Linked DNA regions of Homo sapiens: region 1 is linked to region 2. The links are contacts of gene promoters, found by promoter capture Hi-C in human tissues and cell types (Jung and others, 2019). All regions are on one chromosome and are shown on one strand. Each heading gives the region's core, a stretch centred on a gene start or on the middle of the fragment in contact. The rest is flanking DNA. Distances are from core to core; before and after follow the strand shown.

Region 1 (3,569 bases), core at 248-2,747, 320 kb before region 2:
GGACACAGGAAGGGGAACATCACACTCTGGGGACTGTTGTGGGGTCGGGGGAAGGGGGAGGGTTAGCATTAGGAGATATACCTAATGCTAAATGATGAGTTAATGGGTGCAGCACACCAGCATGGCACATGTATACATATGTAACTAACCTGCACATTGTGCACATGTACCCTAAAACTTAAAGTATAATAATAATAAAATAAAAATAAATAAAAAAAAGAAAAAATACATATAGGATAATTACAATTTTCTAAAACATCCTCTCTGTGGAAAAAAGATTGGAAGAAAAAAATGTCAAAAATGTTATGTGATTGTCCTTAGGCTGCTGAAAGATGGGTTTCAAATATTTTAATTTTTCATTCTATTTTAAAATTTTCCTATAATGAAATGTATTACTTTTGGAATGGAAAAAATGGTTTAAAACCCCCAAAGAACTTCATTTTACTTTTTATCCTTGTTTAATCCAGGGTAATGCTTATAAGAATAAAAGAAGTTAAAGATACTTCATGTTGAGAATTTAAGTATAGTTTGGAAGAAACTCTGAGCAAGCGATACTAAGTTATGTCTTGGCTGCCCTCAGTTAGCCATATACACATGAAGCAAACCTCATCACTGGGTCTCCATCCCCTTTCCTTGATCAAGGTGACTATGAAACACTAAGAAGTCTGTTCACCTGGCTGGGTGTGTTGGCTCACACCTGTAGTCCCAGAACTTTGGGAGGCCGTGGTGGGTGGATCATGAGGTCAGGAGTTCAAGACCAGCCTGGCCAACATGGTGGAACCCCATCTCTACTAAAAATACAAAAAATTAGCCGGGCACAGTGGCAGGCACCTGCAATCCCAGCTACTGAGAAGGCTGAGGCAGGAGAATCGCTTGAACCCAGGAGGTGGAGGTTGCAGTGAGCCAAGATCGTGCCACTGCACTCTAGCCTGGGCGACAGAGCACGACTCCATCATAAAAGAAAAAAAAAGAAGTCTGTTCACCTAAAGATCATACCAATGATGGCAGAATACAGACTCTAGCAATAGGTCTAGCAAAGTCTGGTATATTCCACAGCCTTCAGTTTAGCTTGCTGTGGTTGGCCCTAGGTCACCTTGCCATTCTAAGAAGTGGTCATTCACAAACTGGCTTCTGCTGAATTGATTTTCTGGGAATCAGCCTGCTTCTGCTGAGGACAAGCTTGAACCAAAAGATAGGAGACCTCAGGAGGTTAAATTCATAAGCCAATATTTTTAATTAGCCATCCTTGGTATACTTAACAAGTCATAAGAGTTAGATTCTGTAAATAATAGTCTTTCAGAGGCCAGGCCTGTGCTGCATTTTTAGAAAGCCAGAGTCAACCCAGGCAAAAATGTCAATGATACCTTTTACCTGGAGAGAGAACATCTCTCTAGGACTGTTAAACCAAAAGCTATACTACACTCACCCACAATAGCTACAGAATTCCTTGGCAGGGGCTAGTGGTTTCTTCTAGCTGATTCTGAAATTGAAATATTGAATATCTATCATTTAGGAACATGAAATTCAGCAGCTTTCTTAAAGAGACTTAAACCAACATGGAAGAAAAATATAAAAAGTTTCCTTATAACCTAACCAGCATTAGGGCCTGCCATGCACCCCAAGTCCCGGGCCAGTTTCTTCAGGAGACATGTGGAGTAAGAAACAGAAATTGTTCTTAAGGAGAGGGAGAAAAAAACAAGTACAAAATTGCCTGTAATACCAAGTAGAATAAAATAAGTAGGATGCAAATTTAGGGAAGAGAAAAATCACCTCTACTTGGGGGCCATAAGGGAAGATTTCCAGAGAATGAGGCATTTGAAGCAGCCCTTGATAGACATAAGATTTCAGTCAGCCACAGGCAGCAGGGAAGGTATAAGATAACTTTGATGGAGGGAAGAATATTATCAAGCAAAAGAAGATATGAAAAAAAAAGATAACATGTTCCAATCCAAATTTCTAAAAATGCAAGTGGCCCTATGAACTGAGGACCCGGGAGTCATGGCCTGGCCTATGGCTGGGCTTTGTTTTGCTGGGTATGAACTTGGAGCTCTGTGAACTTTGAAAGGCAGGTGGAGGTGGAGGCTGCTTGGCTGGTGGGGCTCCCAGAACAGACTTAAGGAGTGGGGAAGAAGAGGAATAAGAGCTCTTGCTGCTACAGAGATAAGAACTTGGTAGGAAGCAAATAAGAGACACTAAAAAGACATCATTGAGTCATTTTGCTTTGTGATATAACTCCTCTCCTGTGTATCCAGATAAATCTTTGATCACAATCTACATTACTAGACAATGTGTTAGACTTGAATTTTGAGTGTGTGTGTGTGTGTGTGTGTGGTGGGGGGCTGTATGTGTGTATGGGTTGAGGGGTGGTGGGTATGGAATACATCCTGGAGGTGAGAGTGAGATGAAAGCAGAGGCAGCAAGAGGGGTGTAGGCACATTTGTTTAATAGACTTACTTGGAAGTGAAGAAAGGCAACTAGTCATTCATTCATTCATCACTACTACGTTGTACCAAACACTGTGCTAGTATCGAGATGCAGTAGATCCAAGTCTGATGTGGTCCTGGTCTTCAAAGAGCCTGCAATCTTGTTGGGGTTGGGGGCAGAGATGAACTAAATAATTTTAAAAATGCCTAATTAGGATTGCAGTTAGTGCCATGAAGGAGAAGCCTATATCGCTATGAAAGTTCGTAGAGGGATTCGACCTTGTTGATTAGTTAAGGGGCTATAGAATTGAGTTCTGAAGGACGAATAGGAATGTAGAGTGTAGTGTTTAAGGTAGAGCAAAGAGTAAGTGCAAAGGCCCTGTGGAAAGAAGGAACTGAAGACAGGCCAGCATGTCTGAAGCACAGACAGTGATGAGGAGCATAGAGACAAGTACTGCTGACGAGACAGGAAGCAGACCACCACTGGGTGTTGTAAGTCAGGTAAGGGTTAATTGGGGGTGATAGGATCATTTATATTTAAGAAGGCCACTCTGGCTGCTGTATGGAAAAGGAATGAGAGTATGACAAGAGTAGATGTATGCAAGAAAATCAACTAAGAAGCCGCTGCTCTCCCCAGGGAAAAGATGATGATAGGGCTATACTTTATCACAAATAAGAAAGCATGACATAGCCTCAGCTAAGAGGATTAACTCTCTTTTATATTAAATTGAAAGCGTGCAAGAAAATGTCACCTTACACTTTGTAGGAAACTTATTGTTCCTTTCAAGTACAAATATGTGCTTATGTAAGTGACTTTAGCAATAAGAACAGATATATGCTAACACTAGGATGAAAAGACAGTCTCTGAAGAAGTGGAATGCAAAATGTAATATTCATAAGCTTTTGGATATGTCTACATGACAGATGTGTTTCTAAGTGTACTGTATATTTTAGGCAGAATGTTTTTTCTTGGCTGGTTTGTATACAGCACACTGAATGGATAGAGGGAACAAAGCATTATATATGAGTTACTTTTTCTTTATATACAAACAATTCACAGAGGCATTCCCACTAAAATGCTTCCATTTCACCTTCAATTCATCTTGAATACTCTAATTTTGTTCAAGGAGAAATTAACAAATCACA
Region 2 (3,815 bases), core at 467-2,966:
AAAAGAAAAGACAGACATAAAACAAGGAAAGCAAACTCTTTATCCTTAACTAGCGTCCATACTTTGAGGTGAGCAATGGGCCAGGAAGAAGAGAAGAAAAAAGGTGGAAAAGAGTAAAAAGATACCTGTTGTTAGGGACCCAATACAGAATTTGGAACCCTACCAAGATCTAGTTTGTGTCAGACATATCACTTATTTCCACCATTATTTTTACCCCTTTCAAACATTATGTAATTGGGTACCAACTCATATATCTTTAATAAAAAATATTAATAAACCAACTCTTCAGAACCCTTTACGTGCCTATTTTAAGTGAAATATTGTGCCTGGTGCTAAATAATCTAGGAGAAATATACAATTCCATGCTTGCCTTCAAGAAGGTTACTGTCTAGCTGTGGCAATGAGAGACTACCAGCAGTGTAGGGAGTCCCAAAAGGAGTGAAATAGTCATTCAGGACAGAAAGATTCAACGTTGAGCTGAGGATCTGAAAAACTGAGCTCTATTTCATCTTTACCATTTCTTTGCTATGTCCTTGGACAAGTCATCATCCTTCAAGTCTCCTGCTTCCTCCTTCCCACTCTCTCCCTTGATTGAGAGAAAAGAGAGAGAGAGAAGAGGAGAGGTGAAAAAGAAGAAAAAGAAGAAAAGAAAAAAAGAGGTCAAAGATTGTAAGATGTAAGACAATATTTGAAATGATCACTAATGAGTTCTGTTGTGATGCCCAAATTGAAGTCTCAGTTAGCTGTGACCCGCTGAACTGCCATTCATTTCGCAAAGACATCGGGGTCCAAATTTTCCCGAAGTCAATAGCAGGTGAGGGCTCAGAACCAAATCTATCCTGATACAGTTTTTTTTTCTGCACTGAATAATACATCTTTCAAAATGATTATTGTGACTCACAGAAATAGCTTAAAATATATTCTTGATACGGTTTACAGAGTGAGAAATATTTCTTTAAAGAAATTAAATATCTTTGTATATGTGAGGATGATGGGGAAGGAGTAATTCTACTTACTAGAGAGCAAGGTAAGCAATCAATTCCTTAGGCTCTAGAAGGCTATATATTCTGAAACTGTTGAAATACAATTCTCCTTGGCAGATACGAACCATTAAGCCATTATTGGTAACAGCAGGGGTTAATCACAGATACAAGTTGAGTGCAGGTAGCAGGAGAGTGATGGGAGCCAGATAGATGCTCCTGAAGACCGGGAAGAGGCTCGCAGAAGTGAAAAGGTGCAAAACACTTGCTCAGTTCACCATACTGTCCAGAGCCATACCTAAGGTAAGCAACGCTTCCCGCATCCTCAGACTCCAGGCGTCCAAATTCGCACGCTTGCAGGCATTCTATTGATTCACACTTGAGTCCTTCAACAGGTAGCGCCAATTACATCCCCCAGAGCACGACCCCCAGCATACTGGCCAATACCGCTGTCAATCAAATACCTCACCTACTTCTCTAAATTCCCCCCTCCCACTGTCATTGGCTTTACCTTCGGCCTATCCACAGATTTCTTCTGCCCTGGAGACCACAGAACTTACCCTATCGAATCTAGGATTGGCGCCGAAGCTACTCCCGCCCTTTGACGTCCCCGGGCACCCCGCCCCCTTCACCTCCCAGCTTTGCCGGGGAAGAAGCAGGGCGGGGCAAGCTAGGGGCCGGCCCGGGGGCGGGGCCTGCCTCCCACGGCGGGAGGGCGGAGCCTGCTCTGGAGCCTGACTGCTCGGTTAGGACCTCGGAGAGCGCCAGGCGCCGCGACCAGAGGGCCCAGAGAAGCGGCCGGAGCCCGCCTACCTCGGCCCCCTCAGCTTCCCGGGCTGGCAGGCGGCTAGAGGCGTCTGAGGAAGGTGCCTAAGTCCTGGGTCAGATAGTCATCCCTCTGGGACGCCGCCGCCGCTGCCGCCGTCCAGCTGTGGCTCCCTCGCACCTGTGTGTGTCTGTGTGAGTGTGTGTGTGTGTTTGAGAGAGAGAGAGACAGAGAGAGACAGAGACAGAGAGCGAGCGCACCAGCGCGCGAATGCCCGTGTGAGGGTGTTTGTGTGTGTTCTGGCTGGGAGCGCGAATGCCTCGGCGTGAGGTGTTTGTGTGTTCGCGCGCCCGCGGGCGGGCGAGAGCCCCGCGCCTCAGCGCTGGGCCTGGGGGAGGGACAGCGGGAGCGGCGGCTCTGCGCGCCCAGCAGGCTGAGGCGGGACTCGGGCCGCAGCCGTCGCCGCCACCGCTTCACGTCCCCCGAGAGCGGCTGCCGTGCAGCGGGGAGAGCGGACGGCGGGCGGGCGAACAGGCGGGAGAGCGCGGCGGCGGCTGCGGGCAGAGGTGGAGGGAGGGGAGCAGGAGATGGGGAGAGGGGGGAAAGAGGACGCGGGGAGGGAGATGAGGGGGAGGTGAGGGGGAGGCGGAGGGACAAGTGGAAACAGACGGTGTCGCCGTTCTCCTCCTCCCCCCCTCCCCGGCAGCTGTTGCTGTGGGTCACTCGCAGATGTTTTGGGGTCCGGGCTGCTGGGGGATGGGGACTAGAAAAAGTACCCCCCTCCCCGCCTTTCATAGTGACAAAAAAGGAAGCGTTGAAGCTGATGGGGGAAGAGCCCGGAAGGTGGTGGCAGAGTAAATACCGGCTCCCCCAACGTCGTTTTTCTGAAAATAAAATACTCTGAGCCGAACGTTTCGAAGAAGGAAAGTCCGCCCTTAAGAGAGAGACAGAGTCTTGGTCTGTTGAACTCTGGTTTGATTGTATAATAATGATGATATAATGCTAATGACGATGATGACACTGCCTTTTATTTTTACCCCAGTGCTGATAAAGCGTAGTTACAGCTGGGGATACAGTCCTTGAAAATCTGATGTGTGAGGAGGGAATACTGTTGCTTTTGGAGTTGTGTTATATTTATCTTTTTTTAAAAAGGATATGCTTTTTAGAATTAAAATTTGGCAAAACGAATCCTGACTCTTTTTTTCCAGTCGGTCGTAACCAATGCTCATAAAATGGGGACTGACTTGACTAATGAAAAGAGAAAGGCTTTTACCAAGGTCTAATTGCACGTGTTAAGTCACCTCTTTCCCTTTTTTTCCTTTGTATTTCTCAACAGTGTTTAAAATGAAGAAGTTTAATTTCCGAAAAGTTTTGGATGGCTTAACTGCCTCCTCCCCTGGCAGTGGTAGCAGCAGTGGCAGTAACAGTGGTGGTGGGGCTGGAAGTGGTTCCGTACATCCGGCGGGGACTGCAGGGGTTCTCAGAGAGGAAATTCAGGAAACTTTGACTTCGGAGTATTTCCAGATTTGCAAGGTAAGTTTTGAATTGGCTTAAAGCCTATTATTTCTTTATTATACTGTTGTAAGGAAACAAGGGGGGAAAAACATACCAGGAACAGGAAACTGTTGAGATGTCAGCATCAGAGTCTGCTGCAGAAAGCTCTGTGGGTAGATCAGTTTGGCTTAATAGATATTTTAGGCGTCAACTTAAAAAGCAATGATAGTTTAAGTGGGAAATGAGCACACACAAAAAGTAGAATTTGCAAGATAATGTTAAGATCCAATAGTGGACAAAATTTTTAATATTTGTGTATTATATTAACTGAAGAAGCAAATAGTCGTTTGGTTTTTTGTGTTATCAGAGAAAATATTGTTATTTCACTGTTCAGTATGAAATGAATAAAGCTACTAGCATGTTGCTAGGATTAAGTAGATAATAGGAAAATATGTTCATTTTAAGGGGGCCAATGACATTGCTTTAAAATTCCGAATAAAAACACCTTCACATTCTTAAACTCTTCATAAATACACAAACAGACAAATGCACAGGCTTATAAGAACTTGCAGTTG

Evidence for each region. The method cuts DNA at HindIII sites, captures the fragments that hold promoters and counts their contacts. A contact is called where the count stands out against the background at its distance.
Region 1: a fragment that was not itself captured here is called in contact with the fragment with the promoter of STXBP5L in region 2 in 1 of the 25 tissues and cell types used here (dorsolateral prefrontal cortex).

What each region holds. Positions count from the first base shown.
Region 1 is chr3:120,584,452-120,588,020 of GRCh38, forward strand. No RefSeq gene overlaps it. Among named protein-coding and RNA genes, the nearest start is that of NDUFB4, 10 kb to the right of the region's middle. The HindIII fragment of the contact is 3,986 bases long and covers 1-3,490 here.
Region 2 is chr3:120,906,489-120,910,303 of GRCh38, forward strand. STXBP5L (syntaxin binding protein 5L) reads left to right here and starts at 1,717. Exons shown (of 27, transcript NM_001308330.2): 1 at 1,717-1,846; 2 at 3,083-3,279. The coding sequence starts at 3,091. LOC105374069 (a long non-coding RNA gene) reads right to left here and starts at 1,605. Exons shown (of 6, transcript XR_924399.4): 1 at 1,541-1,605. RefSeq lists a silencer at 1,549-1,788. The HindIII fragment of the contact is 16,055 bases long and covers 1-3,815 here.